Linked DNA regions of Homo sapiens: all the other regions are linked to region 2. The links are contacts of gene promoters, found by promoter capture Hi-C in blood cells and fetal thymus (Javierre and others, 2016). All regions are on one chromosome and are shown on one strand. The core of a region is centred on a gene start or on the middle of the fragment in contact, and the rest is flanking DNA. Distances in the headings are between cores, read along the strand shown. Region 1 overlaps LOC101928438 (a long non-coding RNA gene). Region 2 holds the start of ALG2 (ALG2 alpha-1,3/1,6-mannosyltransferase). Region 3 overlaps LOC101928438 (a long non-coding RNA gene).

Region 1 (3,398 bases), core at 597-3,096, 570 kb before region 2:
CCCAGGCGGGACTGCGGACTGCAGTGGCGCAATCTTGGCTCACTGCAAGCTCCGCTTCCCGGGTTCACGCCATTCTCCTGCCTCAGCCTCCCGAGTAGCTGGGACTACAGGCGCCCGCCACCGCGCCCGGCTAATTTTTTTTGTATTTTTAGTAGAGACGGGGTTTCACCTTGTTAGCCAGGATGGTCTCGATCTCCTGACCTCATGATCCACCCGCCTCGGCCTCCCAAAGTGCTGGGATTACAGGCGTGAGCCACCGCGCCCGGCCGTCAATGTAATTCTTAGTAATTATTAAGACACATGAACAATTTGTGGTGAAGTCCAGGGTGAACAAGGCAATCTGATTTCAGAATTCACGCTCTAATTACTATACTATGCTATAACTGCCTCTGCAGTTATGGTGAGATGATCACAGATCGATCAGTTCTGAAGCAGTGAAACAAAATGAAGAATTTCAGTCAACATGGGAAATACTATTTGGAGTAGGGAGTTCTTAAGGGCTCTTCAGATTATCCCCACTTAAAGAACTCTTTCCTTGCTACCCTGCTGCACACGGGGAATTATGTGAGAAATATATCTCTGTAATTTACACAAAGGTCATTAATTCCAGCCAGGTTTGTAAGGCACATGACCGATGCACCTGGAGAATATCTGAAAAAGCTCCCCCTTTGGAAGTCAGTCTGCTAGTGCTGACATCTGGCATACTGTGTCAAGTCTTGTTGCTCTGTTCCCCTTCTTTATACTCCCCAGATTTTTCCAACTTTAGGACCCAAGTGGGAGTCTTATGTTGGAGGATGTTGTGCAAACCACATGCGTAAAGAAAATAATTTACATTTTTCCTTTCTTAGCTTCTGGAACATCAGTGATTCCATCCTCCCACTTCTATTGGGCAGAAATTGAGGTATTCTCCTTATGCTCTCTCATCTTCTCCAAAACCTACCACACACACACACACACACACACACACACACCCACTCCCTGCCATTCATGTCAGCAGAGATCCAGCATAGCTACTTGTTTTTTTTTTTTTTTTTTTTTTTCCTGATTCAAGGGTCTAAGAACATGCAGTCTTTGGTAATAAAGGAACTCACTAACAATTCAGGTTTTCTCCTCCATTCCCACCTTTTCCATTCACAACTGCCTTTAAGCTTTCTTTTCTCTGTTTCTTTGCTTACCATTTAATCTTTTTATCCCTCACACAATGCCTGGTACATAGTGGACATTCAGTAAATAGTTTTGAAAGGATAAAAGACAAGATGCATTGTATATTTAATATCTTTTCAGTTACAGAAAAATGTCCAAAAATATTACCTTTCTTTAAATGTCTTATGACAGCAGATTGTTCTTAGCAAGCAGGCTTCACCTTCACCTTCATTGCTGCATTAGAGCTCCCACAACCTCTATGTTTGTTTGATTGTCCTGGTGAAGCTCTGAGTAGTAAAGAAACTGAAGGGAGGCCTCACAAATACTGAAAGAGATGTCTGGTTTGGAGGCAGGTCTGTCTCATGGTATGTTATTCCTCCAGATTCTTTTCCAATTTTCATGACTTCACAATGGAAAAGTTTCCACAGATTTAAGGCCATAATGGAAATTAATAAATTGTAGAAGACATACTGCTGAAAAGAGATGCGGAGAAAATCTGAGGGAAATAGAAGATGTCCAGAAAACCTAAGTTAATTGCTTGACTTACTTTCTAGGCTTAAAGTCTCCTTGGAAATCATTGGCTTCTACAGACTTCCAACTAGGAGGGCAACAGACCTAATTCTTTAATTCTCCAGTTTATTTTTAGTTTTTTTTTTTAAAGATGGGTCCTCACTATGTTTCCCAGGTTGTCCTTGAAGTACTGGGCTCAGGTAGTCCTTCTGCCTCAGCCTTTCGAGTAGCTCTTATTTTCCAATTTTTGAACCCTTTGCTTACATCATCAGTTGTGTTTGAAATCATCAGTTGTGTTTGAAACTGTAGTAGTCTTCTTCCCTTATTTTCCTCTTATCCCAACCTGCCCATACACCTTTTCTCCCACCAACTCAAATTTTAGAATTTTTAATTATCTCAGATTGGTTGACAGCACTTGTTGATCAGGGTGCTAAAACCTAAAAAATTATAGCTGTAGGTATCCATGGTCCATGGTCCAGAATAAGTAACCTTTATATCTAAAGAGCTCAAATTTATGTGGACAGTGATGCAGAGACAACACTCTCCCTGCTGGTTTCCTAGGAAAGTCTTTAGAAATGTGAAAGAGATTTAAACTTTAGGACCTTATCTTTGCCTGAAAGTTCAGACTCATGTTTAGTCTGAGCCATGATGACGCACTAGTGGACTTTCTAGACATGTTCAAAGCAGTGAACCTGGTCCTTCAGAACTTTGGCCCTGGGTCTTGTACAATGTGCTGCAATATGCAGCAGAAACAGTCAACGTGGGAAAGATGAACATTTGCTCCTGAGCTCAGGCAAATCTGTATGTGTGTGTGTGTGTGTGTATGTTTGTGTGTGTCTACAACCTGGAGGTAGTCTCCAAGACTTCCAGTGAAAGTGATAATGAAGCTTGAATTTGGGATGCTTCACACACAAATCTTGCTCTGTCTCTAAACTTCCTTAAGAAATTAGAAAAAGAAGACCAAACCGAACCCAAAATAAGTAAAGATAAGGACAGAAAGCAGCCAAATAGAGACAATAGAGAAAATTTAAAAAGTCTAAAGTTTGTTCTTTGGAAAGTACAATAAACTTGATGAACCCCCAACAAAACTGATAAGGAAAGAGAAAACAGAAATGACCAAAATTGGGAATGAAAGTTATATGACTATAGATCATACTAACATTAAAAGAATAATAAGAGAGGCTGGGCACAGTGGCTCATGCACTTTGGAGGCAGAGGTGGGTGGATCACTTGAGGTCAGGAGTTCAAAACCAGCCTGACCAACATGGTGAAACCCCATCTCTACTAAAAATACAAAATTAGCTGGGCCTGGTAGTGCACGCCTGTAATCCCAACTACTCAGGAGGCTGAGGCAGGAGAATCACTTGAACCTGGGAGGCAGAGGTTGCAGTGAGCTGAGATTGCACCACTGTACAGCCTGGGCAACGAGTGAAACTCCATCTCAATTAAAAAAAAATAATAAGGGAATATTATGAAAATTTTATACGAAAAAATTCAATAAATTAGACATGTTCTCAGATTAAGCTAATGCAAGATGGAATAGAAAAAATGAATAGCCTTATATCTAAAAATTTGAATTTGTGGCAAAAAAACTTTACCCCCATGAAGAAAACTCCAGGTCCATATGGTTTCTTTGGTGAATATCACAAACAAGTAATAATATTAAAGTTAGGTAAATTCAGAAAATTGAGGAGCCCATTTTATGAGGCAGACATTATCCAGATACCAAAATCTGAGAAAAATAT
Region 2 (3,313 bases), core at 540-3,039:
GTGCTGGATCATAGGACAGCAAAGAAAGATTAGGCTGAAGGCCGGGCGCAGTGGCTCACGCCTGTAATTCCAGCACTTTTGGAGGCAGAGACGGAGGATCACAAGGTCAGGAGATCGAGACCATCCTGGCTAACATGGTGAAACCCCGTCTCTACTAAAAATACAAAAAATTAGCTGGGTGTGGTGGCACGTGCCTGCAGTCTCAGCTACTCAGGAGGCTGAGGCAGGAGAATTGCTTGAACTCTGGAGGCAAAGGCTGTAGTGAGCCGAGATCGTGCCACTGCACTCCAGCCTGGGCGACAGAGTGAGATTCCATCCCAAAAAAAAAAAAAGGAAAAAGAAAGGTTAGGCTGAAATGACCACTAAGAGCTTTGGTATCCCCCCGGTTTTTTTTTTTTGTTTGTTTGTTTTTTTTAGTTCAGCAACAAGTAACAGAAACTACGCAGAAGAGTAACAGCAGAGCGAACGATGGACTGGAAAGCAAACAGCCTGAAGAAAAGGGTTAAGTAGCAAATGCAAAGCAGTAGAAAGGGAAAAGGAAAGAGCTTATGAGAAAGCTTTCAAGCAGAGTTTAAAGTCTGGCATATGACTAGAGAGAGAAAGAGCATAAGAAAAATCCAAGATGACGCTGACGTTTCTGGCTCTGAGTAAATGAGTGTACAACAGTGCCATATGGAAGTAAGGAGATATAATTGAGAGTGAGAGAGCTGAGCTGAAAAGAGACTAAGTTTTGTGTAGGACGAGTTATCTGTAGGACAGATTGCTTATGGGGCCGCCAGATGGAAATGTGAGTGCAAACCTCAGGTCCAGAGACACCAGTTTAATGACATCGGTTTTCTCAAAGTTATCTCTGACTCTATTCCAGTTTGTTAACTTTCCTTTTTTAAGAGTAGTGCCCTAAACTGAGCAACGAGAAAAAAAATGTCGCCTTCCTCCCAAAAGGCCTTTAACTACTCCCACGGCCACGTCACTAGAAGCTCATTTTGCCTTTGTCAATCTTCACATGCTAGGGTCTCCACCCCAGAATCAGCGAGGTTCTGGGTCCTATCTCCGAGTCTGGAAGCGAACGAACTGCAGGGTTCCTTACCTCTGCCGGACAGTGGATCCCGCCGCCCGGGCGGCCACTGCTTTGCTGGGAGAGCGCCCTGAGGATCCCACGTTAGTGCCACTGGGGGTCGGACCAGGCTGTAGAGGGAGACAAGCAGACAGACGGGTGAGCGCGGCAGGCCTGCCCCAGAACCCCGGCCTAGACACCCACACCCGAGGCTGGGGGAAGCAAGGGAGCTACAGAGGAAAAGCACGGCGCAAAGCAGGAGGAGTCAGGGCTTCTGGGAGAGGCGGGGATCATGGAAGGGCCGCCATACCATATTGGAGATGAGGGTGGCAAGGCGCTGACGCGGACGGATAGAAAGTTACGGAGCCCCCGAAAGACCGGCAGCTGGCGAGACTGACTCAGGCCCCGCCCCCGGACTTGCAGGCAAGGTCCTCTCTGACCCCAGGGACGCCTGGGTCGTCTCACGATATGCCTGTAGACAGTCTGCTACAGACAACTTAGTTACCTGCTGTATGGGAAGTAGAGACCTCCGGCCTCCTTCCTTTGGATCACAACGTCCTTCAGAAAGTCCAATCCCTACCGAAGGAAAAATATAACCGGGGTCAGACAAGATATTTTCTCAGGCAGTTACTAGACCCTCACAGATTTGCGCTGATGTGGCCTAACTGACGCACGTACGGCAGGGCGGGGTCGGCCCGCAGTGGCCAGCTGGGAGCTACGAGCGCGGAGCTTGCGCAGAAGACCCCCATCAGGGTGCGGGGTGCAGTTGCGGCTCCAGGGCCATGGCGGAGGAGCAGGGCCGGGAACGGGACTCGGTTCCCAAGCCGTCGGTGCTGTTCCTCCACCCAGACCTGGGCGTGGGCGGCGCTGAGCGGCTGGTGTTGGACGCGGCGCTGGCGCTGCAGGCGCGCGGGTGTAGCGTGAAGATCTGGACAGCGCACTACGACCCGGGCCACTGTTTCGCCGAGAGCCGCGAGCTACCGGTGCGCTGTGCCGGGGACTGGCTGCCGCGAGGCCTGGGCTGGGGCGGCCGCGGCGCCGCCGTCTGCGCCTACGTGCGCATGGTTTTCCTGGCGCTCTACGTGCTGTTCCTCGCCGACGAGGAGTTCGACGTGGTAGTGTGCGACCAGGTGAGGCGGCCGCGGGGCCGGCTGCGCGAGTGCGGACCTCGCCGTGGAGGGCGGCCGCGGGCATGACCCCTGAGAGAAGACCTTCCCTGTCTGCGGTTCGCAAAGATCGGAACTGACATGGAGAAGTCAGGGTTGTGAGCGAGCCTGTGGTTCTCTAACTTTAGTGTGGGCCCATTTAAAGTTGCAGATTGCTGGGGTTCCATCCTCCAGGAAGTTTTCATCCAGGTGCCCTGAGGTGGGGCCCAGACATCTGCATTTTAACTGGGTCATAGGGTGATTCCGAGGTAGATAGTCTTTGGGGCTCTGAGAAACGCTGGTATTAGAAGTCAGCTTCAGTCACCTTTTACTAATGAGTAACTCGCGTGTTGTCTTCCCGCTTACCTGTTATTTTTGTTGACTCTCCTTTCAGGCCATTTGCATCCCACTGTCCTTGTGTTCGGAGCCAGGCCACACCGTCCTCAGCAGTGTCATGTGTTAAAAACGCCAAGCTGAATATATCATGCCCCTATTAAAACTTGTACATGGCTCCCCATTGGTTTTTGGAGAAAAGTTCAAGCTTTTTACCTTGGTAAATAATGTCCACCTGGATCTGCCCTGTAGCTATTCTTGACTCTTTCCTTCGTGCATTTTTCCCCATCCTAAAAAAGATGACTTTAAAAAGTAACATTTACTCGATTAAAAATTTAGTAGTATAGAAGGATGTAACCTAAAAGCCCCGTCCTATTCTACTCCCTGAAGATAGCCACCGTTAAGTTTCTCTTGTATTTTTTCAGAAGTTGTGGTGACACCAGCCTGTGTCTTTTCATAGGTATATCTATATCTTCTTATTGGTACATAATTGGTATTATGACATACCTACTATTAGGCATCTTTTTCAGCAAAAATTTATTTATTTATTTATTTATTTTGAAACGGAGTCTTGCTCTGTCTCCCAGGCTGGAGTGCAGTGGCGCGATCTCGGCTCACTGCAACCTCCGCCTCCAGAGTAGCTGGGAGTACAGGTGCGCGCCCCACGCCCGGCTAATTTTTTCTATTTTTAGTAGAGATGGGGTTTCACCATGTTGGCCAGGCTGGTCTCGAACTCCTGACCTCGCGATCCGCCCACCTCGGCCTCCCAAAGTGCTGGGAT
Region 3 (3,234 bases), core at 365-2,864, 590 kb before region 2:
CTTATTTTTCTGCCTTCTTTTTGTGCTCTTGTGTCCATGGTCTATTCCCTTGTCAAAGTGTAAGCTTCAAAAGCATACCCCACACATCTTTGAAATCCCTGTGGCACCTAAGAATGTTCGATATGGACAGTAAATGTCCATAAAATATTGCCTCCTTTAATTTGGATATGAATAGAGAGAATAGCCATATTATAAGTAACAAATTATATGGATTAGTGTTTTTTTTTTTTTTTTTGAGATGGAGTCTTGCTCTGTCACCCAGGTGGGACGATCTTTGCTCCCTGCAACCTCCACCTCCCGGGTTCAAGTGATTCTCCTGCCTCAGCCTCTGGAGTAGCTGGGATTACAGGTGCCTGCCACCGCACCTGGCTAATTTTTGCATTTTTAGTAGAGATGGGGTTTTCACCATGTTGGCCAGGCTGGTCTCCAACTCCTGACCTCAAGTGATCTGCCCGCCTCTGCCTCCCAAAGTGCTGGGATTACAGGCATGTGCCACCATGCCTGGCTGGAATAGGGTATTTTTGGCACGAGTGGGCATGTATAAGTTTATTTATTGGTTGCTTTCTTTACTTCAACTTGATACTCCAGATAGAACATACTTTATCAAGGTGCCTGCCACAAGCCCAGACAGCTGCGTGGTGATAACAAGAAAATGGCAGTTTGTCTTTATCTATTGTATCTGTGTAGGAAGATTTGCTATGATTTTTTTTTTCCTGATAGACTTTTGGTTTGACTCTAATTCTAACCTCTTTCCCCTCTATTTGTACTTTCTCTTATGCTGCTTTCTCTCACTTATGAACTAGATGCTGTAGGCTAGGAAATGTTAATATCAACTTCTTTTAGAAAAAAGTTTTTAAGGTTTGGAAAATTGCGAACCGTGACATTTTTGTATAACCAATTAAATATGAAAATTCTTGAATCTCATCTTTTCCAAAATATATTGAAATAGGTTTGCATGCTACTATATGCAGAAGTAAAATGAGCAAAACAATTTTGGATTACGATTTTTTAGAATTTTTAGATAGAAGCTCAATATGATTGAATATTAATATCAATGACTGAATATTAAAGTTTACTTTAACAAGGAGAAAGTAACATAGTAGATCAGGAAAGACTTTCTAATTGTAGAAAATTTTGGAAAAAGTAGAAACCTGAGATGGAAAGATTACTTAATAGTATAAGTGCCAATATTACTTTAAAATCTCATTAAATAATGTCTTTTCATCCATTAGAAATAATAAGAGTCAGGACAGGCTTGCAGTCTGGTTAAAAAGATAGTTTATTTCTTAGTCATGTTTTCCTCAATCATTGGTAAACTCTGGAAGACCTCAATAATCTGGGGGAGAAAAGTTATTATTCATGTGTGATAAACCAATTCAGGATATTATTTATGCCTACGAAACAAGATCTGCCTTTTAACTAGAGTTGATGGATGAAGTAAATACCTCTTTCCAAATATAACTGCATAACCCTTTCCCATCATTTCCACTCTGAAAAAAACCAAAAAGATTGCCTCACATACAAGTTCAGTTCCTTCAGCATATTCTCCAACAGTGAGATGCTATATATCACAAAAAGTACTAGACTGCTTCTCAGAGGCCTGGGTCTGGCTTTGCTGCCATGAAGGTGCCCAGCCTTGGGTAAGTTCATCTTTTCGGGGGGCCTAAATATTATTTGTAAAATGATAGTGTTGGGCTCACTTTATGATCTTTAAGGAAATTTCAAGTTCTAAAGTTGAATGCTTTTTTAGACACATTAAATATTGTGAATCAGCTGTGCCCTGGTCTCCTAAAGTGATTGCTATGGCCAGGAGACTTACAAACTGTCTTGTATACAATACATGTGCTTTTAGTAGTAATGTTATATTAAACTGCTTTGGCCTGCATGGTAATGAACTATAGCCACTGAGTGGGATCTTGGTGGCCTGAGAGAGTTAATGCTGCCAGCATCACAGCCTTCTGTCCATGAAGTAGAAATGAGCAGAAACCTGGATAGTCCAAAAGTCATTTTATATTTAGCTTTGGAATTTGTTTTTGTGCCTTCATTTGAATATGGATGAGTCACAAATTGACTTCATACAAATTAGCAAACTTTCATTGGAATGGATTCTGTTGTTTGCTCCTCTTCAGTTCCTTTCTGATCCTCACTGCATGCAAAGCACAAACCATTTCTTAAGTGTAGCAGTGGAGGCAGAACTGTCCTTTTTCTGCTTCTTTCTAGAAAAGGCTTGATGATGGTGGGGTTGCAAGTCTACATCTCCCTTCGGAGTGTAAATAAATAGTGAAATAGTGAGAAGGCAGATCACAAGGAAAGTACCAAGTAGGTGTTAAGTTGAAAAAAAAAAATGGCAAAACAACCAGGATGAATACAGTAGGCTCTATTTGCAAACTTGTTAGGTTTGTGGATGGATAGACCTTTATAGATAAATAAGAGCTCACTTTGTAGGCATTGGGAAGTATCTGAATTTTAACAGATTACAGGTTGAGGTATCATTTTAGTTAGGTTTAGATAGTGAAAACATGGTTTATCTATTTTTTAAATGCCTATTCTACATATTTAGGTATCTGGTTTCCTCTTTAGATCATGCAATTAGTAACTGATTCTGATTTTTTTACCATAATACATTTTCCAGTATTTATTCTGCATGTTTATAGTTCACTACTGGAAAAATTCTTCCCTGACATCTGTTCTGAATTAGTTCCCTTTTCCAGTTATGTTTTCCTGTTTTATCAATTGTGATGAGGAGAATAGAAAGCCATATTTTAAAGATTTCTGCTACTTAAGTTTAGTAAAATTGAAATAAACTATGTAACTTTTTCTAAATTCTGGAAATTTGCATGTTAAATTACCGGTTTCATTTTTTAAAACAATAGCATAAACCGGACAAAATTTGAGATCCAGTTACTGTAGTCTTTCATAGTTGTCAAATTGACTTTTCCATAGTTAAAAAATTTTTTTGAGAACAGCTTCTGTTGTCTCAATGTCTTTAAAAATGTCTTTTTGTTTCAGTTATCTTGGATCTATGTATTTGGGATGAATCTTCTTTGGGATGAACTTATTGAGTACTTAGCAGTTCTTGGCATGCTAAGAGTAGGTATTAAGAGGAAGAGTGGTGCTCCGTAAACATTTGATGATTGAATGAAAGCAGTTTGCAGGAAGCTTTATCCAAAATATTCTATTTTCTTTATCTTAACCAGCCTCACGGCCTTAGAACTTTTCTGGGATAGTTTCACT

The links. The method cuts DNA at HindIII sites, captures the fragments that hold promoters and counts their contacts. A CHiCAGO score of 5 or more calls a contact.
Region 1: a fragment that was not itself captured here is called in contact with the fragment with the promoter of ALG2 in region 2 in 1 of 17 cell types (naive B cells); the score reaches 5.3 in naive B cells.
Region 3: a contact is called between a fragment that was not itself captured here and the fragment with the promoter of ALG2 in region 2, in 10 of 17 cell types (naive B cells, total B cells, fetal thymus and 7 more). The highest score is 10.8, in naive B cells.

The regions. Positions count from the first base shown.
Region 1 is chr9:99,793,991-99,797,388 of GRCh38, reverse strand. The region is part of intron 2 of LOC101928438 (a long non-coding RNA gene); the gene reads left to right. Among named protein-coding and RNA genes, the nearest start is that of NR4A3, 26 kb to the left of the region's middle. The HindIII fragment of the contact is 1,392 bases long and covers 1,151-2,542 here.
Region 2 is chr9:99,220,418-99,223,730 of GRCh38, reverse strand. ALG2 (ALG2 alpha-1,3/1,6-mannosyltransferase) reads left to right here and starts at 1,789. Exons shown (of 2, transcript NM_033087.4): 1 at 1,789-2,184. The coding sequence starts at 1,837. SEC61B (SEC61 translocon subunit beta) reads right to left here and starts at 1,449. Exons shown (of 4, transcript NM_006808.3): 1 at 1,365-1,449; 2 at 1,088-1,185. The coding sequence starts at 1,367. RefSeq lists an enhancer at 1,380-1,699. The HindIII fragment of the contact is 2,183 bases long and covers 560-2,742 here.
Region 3 is chr9:99,814,009-99,817,242 of GRCh38, reverse strand. All of the region lies in intron 1 of LOC101928438 (a long non-coding RNA gene), which reads left to right. Among named protein-coding and RNA genes, the nearest start is that of NR4A3, 6.3 kb to the left of the region's middle. The HindIII fragment of the contact is 3,095 bases long and covers 67-3,161 here.